3 separate regions of the Homo sapiens genome follow, and all the other regions are linked to region 3. Evidence: promoter capture Hi-C in 16 types of primary human blood cells and fetal thymus (Javierre and others, 2016). All regions are on one chromosome and are shown on one strand. The core of a region is centred on a gene start or on the middle of the fragment in contact, and the rest is flanking DNA. Distances in the headings are between cores, read along the strand shown.

Evidence for each region. Contacts are between HindIII fragments. The CHiCAGO score rates a contact against its expected background, and 5 or more counts as called.
Region 1: a contact is called between a fragment that was not itself captured here and the fragment with the promoter of ITPR2-AS2 in region 3, in 1 of 17 cell types (M2 macrophages). The highest score is 5.3, in M2 macrophages.
Region 2: a fragment that was not itself captured here is called in contact with the fragment with the promoter of ITPR2-AS2 in region 3 in 2 of 17 cell types (M2 macrophages and M1 macrophages); the score reaches 7.2 in M2 macrophages.

Annotation. Positions count from the first base shown.
Region 1 is chr12:26,148,297-26,151,717 of GRCh38, reverse strand. It overlaps a transcript of SSPN not described here. Among named protein-coding and RNA genes, the nearest start is that of BHLHE41, 25 kb to the right of the region's middle. The HindIII fragment of the contact is 2,754 bases long and covers 252-3,005 here.
Region 2 is chr12:26,090,721-26,093,844 of GRCh38, reverse strand. No RefSeq gene overlaps it. Among named protein-coding and RNA genes, the nearest start is that of BHLHE41, 33 kb to the left of the region's middle. The HindIII fragment of the contact is 2,758 bases long and covers 1-2,631 here.
Region 3 is chr12:26,317,270-26,320,542 of GRCh38, reverse strand. It overlaps ITPR2-AS2 (ITPR2 antisense RNA 2), which reads right to left and starts at 1,619. Exons shown (of 6, transcript NR_199072.1): 1 at 1,539-1,619. RefSeq lists an enhancer at 1,877-1,926. The HindIII fragment of the contact is 7,262 bases long and covers 1-2,074 here.

The sequences.
Region 1 (3,421 bases), core at 379-2,878, 170 kb after region 3:
CCTGGACCACGGTAACCTTTATGCATGCTGAGGGTCAGGTCTTGTCATGCATAGGTAAATTAGATCCTCTGCATGAGCTAAACTGCAAGCTCCATGGGGGCAGGGAGCTTTGTCTGTTTGTTCACTGATTTACTCCCAAGAACTCTGAATAGTGCCTGACACACACTAGGTATTTAGTGTTGAATGAATAAATGATTTGTTTTTCATTGCAATAGCAAAAAATGTATGTGAAAGGGTGCCTCAGAAAAGCTTAGGACCCAATTGAGGATTTTAAGGGGGCAGTTGTGCTGGGTAACAGCAAGAGAAAAATAACACAATGCATGTGATTTTTTTTTTATGGTTGAGAAGAGATCTAAATAGGGAAATAATGCCAGTTCTAATCTAAATATTTTGGAATGAACTGTAACTTCCTTCAGTTTCTCTCTAGCCTCTCCAAAAGGATTTAGCAATGTTTGGTGGTTTTGCCTGGGTATTTTAACAAAAGCTGATCTCATGCTGGCATTATAGCACAATTTTTTTTTTCCAAGAAAACCTGCTCAAAAGACTAACAGGGCACTCAAGAGTTCTCTGAGAGAAGGAACAGTCATAGAAATATTAAAATATAGACTTGCCCCTTTTTTTCCCTAAGTTCCACCCGAAAATCCCACCAAAATGTGCCATTCCAGTGTCTGAAAAGCAATGCAGAAGAATTTCTGTATCTCAAAAAATTCTGGAAATGATTGTTACAGCAAGTCATTTCTCAACCACTGTTCACACTGGCCGATGAATAGCATTCTTGAGTTCTCCAGTGAGCAGAGCCAAACAAGTGACTTCAGACTTCAAAATCCCAGGAGTGATTCTGGCCTGGCTCTGACTTTCCCAGAGGCAAAATTATCCTCCTGCAGAATACATCACAAATCCCAGTAAGGACTGTCCCTTTCCAGGTCTTAAGAGAGGGCTAAAAAAATCAAAAGCCTTATGCCTCCTTCCAAAATCCACTAGCACTCACAGCATTTGGCTTTATGCTGGTTTATGACAAAATATTCTCAACTGTGGGGTCTCAAAGGTTTCCCTTAAAATATTTTTTAGTAAGTGAATACATTATAATGATGCAGATGACTCCCCAAATTAAAAATGTACAAGGATTTGCACAAAAAATTTTAAAATGCTTTTCATTTGGCTTCTGTTTTAAAAGCATACTTGTAAATGAGCTCTTTTTGAAGGATATATAAATTGTATGTACAGGACAAAGAAACAATGTAGTCATTCCAGGGAAAATAAAATCATTAGCTTAAATGAAAAAAATAATTAAACCAGTTTATAGCATCAGTCTGTGAAACTCTAACTGGGTAAGAGACTGAAATGTGAGGATGCCATACTTGGGAGGGCATCGCATACACATTAGCGAAACCTTTTACTGAACTTTGCTCTCAGTGTCAAAATACCCAGCTGTGTGATGGTGCTACCAGGTTTTGTGGAAAGCCTGATGTGTGAGACCTGGGAGGCAAAATAAAGCACCCCCAAGCTGCTCCGGAGTCAAACCCATTTCTGCTTTCTCCAAAGTGCTTCCTTTCTTGTGGCTAATGTCGGCTTGGCCTTGAGCACTTCCTGACACAATCAACAAGAAGCTATAAACCATGGGTGCCCTAGGTTAGGATGGTGTTCAGTCGGCCAGAAACATCTGCAAGTTTGAGACAGTACCCCATATAGCAAAGTTATGTGCCCATGTTTCTTCCTACCTTTCAGAAGATGTGAGGAAGTATTGACCTTGCGAGTATATGTGTACATGTACAAAAGGATTTAAATTCTAGAACCTCTCCTTAAAAATTTCAGGTGCATCATGGTTCACTTAAAGGCTCTAAAAAATTAAAATTAAAAAAAAAATTTCAGGTGCAGTATGTGTGGATGTGTGTATGCACATGTGTGCTAATCTACATATGTTAACTGTATAATAAAAGGTGTAGTGATTGAGTAATGGGTTTTCCCATTATTTGGCTAACAAAAATTACAGCACATGCTCCATGCAGACTATTTCCAAGGTATTATTATTGTTTTCATTGCTGTTGTGGATAGCAGGCAACAGGTACTGAGTACAAATTATGCACCAGACATGTACATTTATTTCTTGTTCAACTCTCACAAGAAATCTATAAGCTGGATATGATTATTGATAAGAGAAAGATGGGTAGAATGAAGCTGAGAAAGGTGAAGTCACTTGCCACAGGGGAGCACTAGGGAAAGGGGAAGCTGGGCTTCAAGTCTGGCATTTGGCTGCTCTGAAGCTGATTTTTTGCCCCCAAATAAAGTGAGCTAAATATGGAAATCATTAGGGACAGAATTTGACCTTTCTTTGATAATTTTAAAAATAATTCTTGCTCTCACAGTGCCCCTAAATCACCAGTATGGTAGATGTATACAAATACAAGGAATTGTAGATGTATACAAATACAAGGTAGATGTATACAAATACAAGGAATTAAGCATTTCTAATCCCAAGAGTTATAGACAAGTAGACTTTTATTGAATGTTTACAAACGCAGCAACACAAGCAAAAAGCCATAGTGATGTTGAGTTGGAATATAGAAACTTCATCAAATCTATTGCATCAGGTAAAGGGAGTAAGCTCTGTATTCACCAATTTACAGTAAGTGCTTCTCCACATAAGATAAATGTTCCAGAAGAAAAATCTACCATTACTTTAAAATCCAAGATGGCTTGAAGTTTTTCAAGTTGAAAACCTTAAACAGGAATAATGTGTGATGGAGAACAAAGAGAATTTCTGATTTTAAAAAATCCAGGCATTTGTGTGTGTGCCGTGGGGAGGTTGGGGGAGGCACCTAGCACATCTGAGAGTGTGATAATACAGATGAGATCAGTAATTGGGCTAGATTAGCCAGTCAGGATGGGTCAGATGCAGCATTTTGTCCACTGTAATTCTCGTAACATCTTCATTTATTTTCAAGACATTTCTGAATGGAAATGTCACCTAGAAGCACAACTGAGAGAATTTCATCATAAAGCAAGCTTTTTTAAAAAGAAAAATGCACCATGTTACAGTCTTTAGAGTTCATGTTTTCACCTGATATAGACATAGTTTTAGAAAACCATGCCTGAAACGAGATGAAACTGGGTTAAAATATTATAGAATGCAAGATGCCAAAATCGTAAAACGTTAAGTAGAGGAATCACGGCCTGCTCCAAGCCTTGAATTTTTCACTTACATCCACTCTGTAAAGCAGCACATCATGTTGGCCCGTTCTTTATCATCACACAAGCCTGCCTTGTTCATCTTTATCTCAAAAATTCAGTTCTAAAGCATTCAACAGGATTATTCACTGTCTAGATTTTATTCAAATCGATTTAAGATCTCCTCCCCATCGGTGCCCAGAACTAAAATACAAAATGCAGCATCTTCATTTCCTTCAGAGTAACATAACTCCAG
Region 2 (3,124 bases), core at 3-2,502, 230 kb after region 3:
ATCCTGGAATTGTGTGGCCCAATCCCTGCCCACCTCTGCACATGCAGCTTACATGAAGCTGAGATAATCATGTTAAGAATTAAGTTCATTTGCCACATGTACATAACAGAAGACACATTTTATGTACAAAGGTCATGTTCTTTGCCTTAGGTTATTTGTTCATATCAGTGAATATAGATTCAGTGTTTTGGGATAGAGAAGGCATAAAAAGGAGGGAGCTGCTCATTAACTTATTTTTTATTTTTACTTATTTTTATTTATTTTTTGAGACAGGGTCTCACTCTTGTCACCCAGACTGGAGTGCAGTGGTGCAATCTCTGCTCACTGCAACCTCTGCCTCCCGGGTTCCAGCAATTCTCCTGCCTCAGCCTCCCAAGTAGCTGAGATTACAGATGCACGCCGCCACGCCAGTCTAATCTTTTGTATTTTAGTACAGACGGGATTTCACCATGTTGCCCAGGCAGGTCTAGAACTCCTGAGCTCAGGCAATCCATCTGCCTCGGCCTCCCAAGGTGCTGGGATTACAGGTGTGAGACACCGTGCCTGGCTGCACATCAACTTCTACAGGAACATGTCCCCTTAGCCTTAGTTGACAAGGTCAAGGGTTTGTCTGTCTTTGTAATCATAGCAACTAGCAGAATTTCCAACACACAGTAAGTACTCAATAAATGTTTTCATTGTTAGATGATGAATAGCATTAACTATTATCCCTGTTAAGAGACTAATGCTGAATTTGAAAAAAAAAATCTACAGAGTGAAAACACTGTTTATATAAGTTATAAATAATTTGGGAAGGGGACAGTGAAAAAACTCCTTTTCTGAAATTTAAAAATAGAACCATAATAACTATGTCATTGTCTTTCATGAGCGATCTCTATGTAAAAGCATTGATCTCTGTGTAGGAGAATAAAGCAAATACAACAGAGCCATCCATGTGACCATCAAAAACCACAAAAGACATGGTAGGAAATACCCCTGACGTGTAAGACTCCTTCAAAAAAAAAAAAAAAAAAAAAAAAAGCAGTGTATCTTCTGGGCCTGTTTCAGAAAAAAAGAAAAAGAAAATACACATTAAAAAAAAAAAAAGGCAGTAAATACTAACCGGGAGGGGTGACCTAGGAGTAAGCATGAAGTGATACTATTCAGAACTGGAAGAAATTTTAGGTATCATCATGGCCAGCCTCTTTATTTTACAGATCATGCTAATTTTCTGCTACTTATTGTGTGGCCTTGAAAAATCATGTCATGAGCAGGCTAGCTGAAAACATAGAAAGAGCTGTGGGGAAAATAAACCAGGTTGTAGCCTAATTTCTGCTGCAGTAAGTAGCTACAATAAGTAGCAGAAAATTAGGCCTACAATCTGGTTTATTTTCCTCACAGCTCTTTCTATGCTTTCATCTAGCCTGCTCCAAATGTTTTCTTTTCAATACGGGGGATCAAATAAACATACAGACTTGGGATGAAGATCTAGAACAAAAGAAAAACAAGAAGGTAACTAATTATGTATACCAATAATTTTTCTTAAAGTAAATTAAAATCAGAATATTAATATTCCTATCAGAACTTCCCCCCCAAATTTGACAGTCTCCCAAGCACCAGAGTTTCTTAGTAGAGAGAGACTTTTTTTTAGTGATAGTTAGTGGCATGAAAACAAATCCTAAACTTTAAACAGATGGGAATTTTGGGGCTAATGACAGCTAATATTAACAGTGTCGCAAGATCAGGTTCTGATTTTGTAAAGATTGAAAGAGCATAACTTCAGGTAGCTCTCGATACAGTAGAGCCAAATCGGAGTCCTCCTGCAGAGGGCATAGGATGACCAGGCGCTGAGGAGAGCCCACACTGCGGTGCAGTGTGTAATCCTGGGAGAGACCCTCTTTAATCCTGCTCTGTTAGAAAACTGGAGAATGCCATAGCAGTTTGAGCAGAAGGAATGATTTTCTCCACACGGGCAAACTTTCCAGCTCTTTCTACAGTCTCTGCACTGCAAGCTGGTTTAGAGAATGTTGAGCTTTTTCTAAATAAATGGTAAATGGAGGTTGAGGAAACACTATTGGGAATGCATTTTCTCTGAGTTATGATGAACAGAACAAATCAGGAAAAGAATCATTACGAAGTACTTTGAGCCACTCAGTCTTTGAGAATTTGCTTTGATGACATTGTAAGGTGAAGAAAGGCAGCTAAGCTAATTTTTGTTTGGACAAAAAAATGTGTTTATTCTGTTTATCTTAAATGAGAGATATTATGCTTTATGGATTTTTGAAAAAAAATTAAATAAGAAGGAGCTGTGGCCATGGAAGAGAGATGGAGGTAAGCAGATGCAGCAGATGGAGTGTGCGTGTTGAGGAATGTAGCTCCAGGCAAGAGAGAGGAAATGGAGGCAAAGGACACCTGGGCTTTGGAAATGGACCTGCAGCTTCACATGGGCGGATCAAAGGCTGGCCACAGGTTACGTAGCCCAAGTATCTGGGACAGAGATGGAATTGCTGCCTTAGGAATGAGAAGTGATTCTGAATTGAGTCCACTGGAGAAATACACATACCACATATCTCCAGCATGAGTGTTCATGCGCTGGAATCCATGGTATGCATGAAAGTAGATGACAGGTGAGAAGTCATAGTTCTGAAAGCTTCAATACCTCATTCCCCAAATGGGAAAAGGCCATGGAGCCGTATGTTAAGACCTTCTGCAAATAGGCAGTCTTCTTCCAAGTAGATCCGAGTGCATACTCATGAAGCGTATACTAAGCACTGGCGAACAAACAGAGGAAGGACATGTTAGAAGGGACCAGGTCACATCAGTGTGTCCTTGTCTCTATTCCTGCTTCTCCCTCTCAGCCTCCCCTAGCACCAGTGCTGTTGCCAGGAGACCGAAGTCTAGGAGACAGAAGAGGAGGCCACCAGGAATGGAGAATGGATAGGCTGCGGAGCCAGTGAGAACAGATTCGTGTTCCTGTTGTCTCACTTGTGAGTAATTTGACTTGGGCAAAGAGTTTTTGTCTTCTTATATGCAAGATGGGACTCATACATTCGCCTTTTCATTGAATTCAAATTTTCTGAAGGCATATTATATGCCAGGGCCTGTAATAGGTTCTAGGAATTGAGCAGTGAACAAAACAAACATG
Region 3 (3,273 bases), core at 370-2,869:
TGCTCAATAAAATGTATTTTGATGAGGATTCATACTTTGGTTTCTTCTGTGTGAAATGGAGATAATATGACTCTCTTTCACACTGGGACTTATCTGTTACAATGTTAGATTGTACTTCAGACTGCCTGCCAGGCCCTTGGGCCATCTTCAATAAGTCAGCTCAGGGAAGGCTGGTGTCCACTATTGACCTAAGCAAGCCAATGACAGCCTACACCTGAAGCAGAGAGCAGAAATGTTGAGATTATCGACTGCCCCTTGGCTTTGGTAAGAGGAATAAAAAATGGCTATGTTGTTTTAGAAAATATCACCTTGAAAGCTCCATGATGATGTACCAATTTGCTCTGATTGTCTCATAAAGCACCATTTTCCTTCCCCATATATTATGGAGCAGATGGCTCTCTTCTCAAAGGAAGCTGTGCCATTTTAAAACTTTTCTTCCCATGCAGGATGAGCCACTGGCTAAAATGGTGAGATCACCACCCATCCAGCCATGCTATTATAACCCAGGACACTCATGTAGGATTGAGGCCTGGAAAGTTAACTGCATGATTCCCAGGTGTTAGGGCTACTTACCAAGAATGCCTGCTTAACTTTGAAAGGAAGGTTTCCCTGGGAACATACATCCTGGTGAACAGGATCAGGTGTTGCTTAATAGATATTATGTAGATACAGAGTAAATGTCAGGCTTACATAGAGGAGTTGGCTGCTGAGGCAAATTTGTTCTTCAGCCTTGGCCAGCAACCCAGAATTTAAGGGAGGAGTCAAGGCCGGAAGCCACGTGCATTGAGGATCTAGGAAACCACCCACAGAGTCATCCTTCTTCCAGACTCAGCCTCCTCAGACAAAAAATCCCACTCTGTTCCCAGGCCGGAGAGCCTCCTGGGCTGGAATTGCTCAAGCCTCAGCTCACAGATGAGTCACTGTATTCATTTGCTCCACAGGTAGGCGTGTAGTTTGGCCCCATATGCAACAGACAGGCCAAGTTAACAGCAACTCGGGGAATTTCAAAATTGATTTTTATGGCAAAAAGAACACATGACCATTGTGATAGAAAATATTGGAACATACAGGCAAGCACCATAAATTTTAAAAAGAGCTGATAATCCCCAAACGCAGAGATTAAACATCATTAATAATTTCTTGTCTCACCTTCCAGGCTTTTGTCTATCCACCTGGGAGTACATATAGTGTAAAACAAATTGGATTATTCTAACAATGTTGTTTTACGGTCCTTCTCTATATACTATCCTACGGTGGACATTTTCCCAGGTCATTGATTATTCTGTTCTAGTGATTTTTTAATGGCCATACAACCTTCCAAAATAAAAATGTACCATAGTTTGTTGTACAATGCTTTACAGTTGAACATTTAGATAATTTTCAGTTTTTCGTTACTAAAGTTAACACTATGATGAGCATGATTGAACATACATATTTGTGTACGCCTCTGATTCCTGACTAAGAATAAATTCATTCAAATGAAATCATGCAACCAAAACATATGAGTATTTTCAAGGCTTAAAAAAGGTTTTACTTACTTATACTCCTACACTTGCGGCATGAAACAGGCCCTTTCCCAAAGGTGGCTTTTAGGTAAGGCTGCTTTGGTGGCCCAGACTAGGGTCCCCCTGCCTCTGATAGAGCTAAACTGTGCCGCAGGAAGCTGCCCCAGGGCAGCTGTGTGCAGAAGGCTGTTTTTGCCCCTTGGGGCCTTCCGGCTGCATTTTCTCATCTCTACAGCCGGGCCAGCTGAAGCATGTGGAGGTCAGGTGATGTGTGTGGGGTCATGCAGCCAGTGGTGACTCAGCCAAACCCACTCCAGCTCCTGAACCTTGCTCAGATCACAAGGCTGAGAGCACTCGCTTTCCCTGCAGCCCACAGTTTCCAAATAATTAAAAGAGGCTCCTTGTGCTTGAGTTTGTAGATATTAAGTTTTTGGAATGAGTGGTTCAGCCCCATGACCTTGTTAATTGGTGACACTAAATGCTGTATAATCCTGCCTTCCTTTTTCTTTCTGGAAACAATCAGAATAATTTGTTGAGCTTCCCTGCACTGTATAATTTGCAATGAAGCTTTGTGATGAGTCTATTCAGGTGCCCATCTGAGACTCAGATTCAAAGACATAACTGCTGAGCTGAATCAAAACAACAACTCTGGTACATCTGATTCATTATGACTCATGCATCAAACTCAAGCTGCCTATTAAGGTACTAGAACACTCTCACCAACATAAGAAAACCCCTGATGACAAAGATTGGCCAACTCTTGGGGATTATTGTCTCCTTCATCCATAATTCAGTAAGCCAAATTAAATTCAGGTGACCAATAGTTAAGTCAACCTAACAAGACTGTCTCTTCTCAGGTGGCTGGGCCAGCATGGGGGATGACTGCAGCTATTCCACAGGGAGTCTTTGCTTCCAGTGGTTTACTATCCCTGTATTACTCTCTGGAATGGAGCCTGTGAGCTCAAGGTCCTCTGTGGACATCATACTTTGTTCTGATTCTTAGCCATACACAGTGGGAGTTGAATCCCAGATGTCCTCTTATGGCCCAGCACCATTTGCACAGGGTTAAGAGAAAATGGAAGAGCATCAACCCATCCCCTCAGCTGGGAAATGACTCCTGACTCTTTTGCCAGGAGAATATATCAGTTACATCCTCTTTTGGGCATTCAGAGATGAGCCTAATATGTAAAAATTAAAGTAAACAGGCTGAAGAGACACCTACTTGTAGTATAGCTGCTGTATTATTTATCTGCATATATAAATGCACAGGCACGTAACCTAGCTGATTCTAAACTGCGTAGGTGAGTGTTTGCAGAACTAGGGGCTAGGAAGTTTTCTCAGTACCTATTTGCATGAGGCTGTGTTTCAGGAAGGCTTTTGGTTGTTAGCTGAAGGATGATGATGGAATTTAATGAGGAGTCCTTGGGACAGAGACTGAAATGGCGGGATGGCCTGGTATTTGGTTCCTATCAGGATATTGAGGGTGATTTGAGCTAGGAGGAATAAGGGATGACAGCCATGTCCTGGGCTTCGGCACTGCTCTGACACTCTGAAGGTCAGCAGAGTTGAAAGCCTTGCAGGTGAGCTGTTGGCATGGATGCCGGCGATGCTCGTGATAGGTTCTGCCAGTCATGGCAGGACTGAGGCTCCTTCAGAAGGTGTTGTGAGTAGAGGATGCTGAGGAGGGAGAGGGGGAGAAAGAGAAAGAATAAGGCAAATTCCACATGTGATTATATCTAATAGTCTGACTTATGAGTTCCTGTGGGAG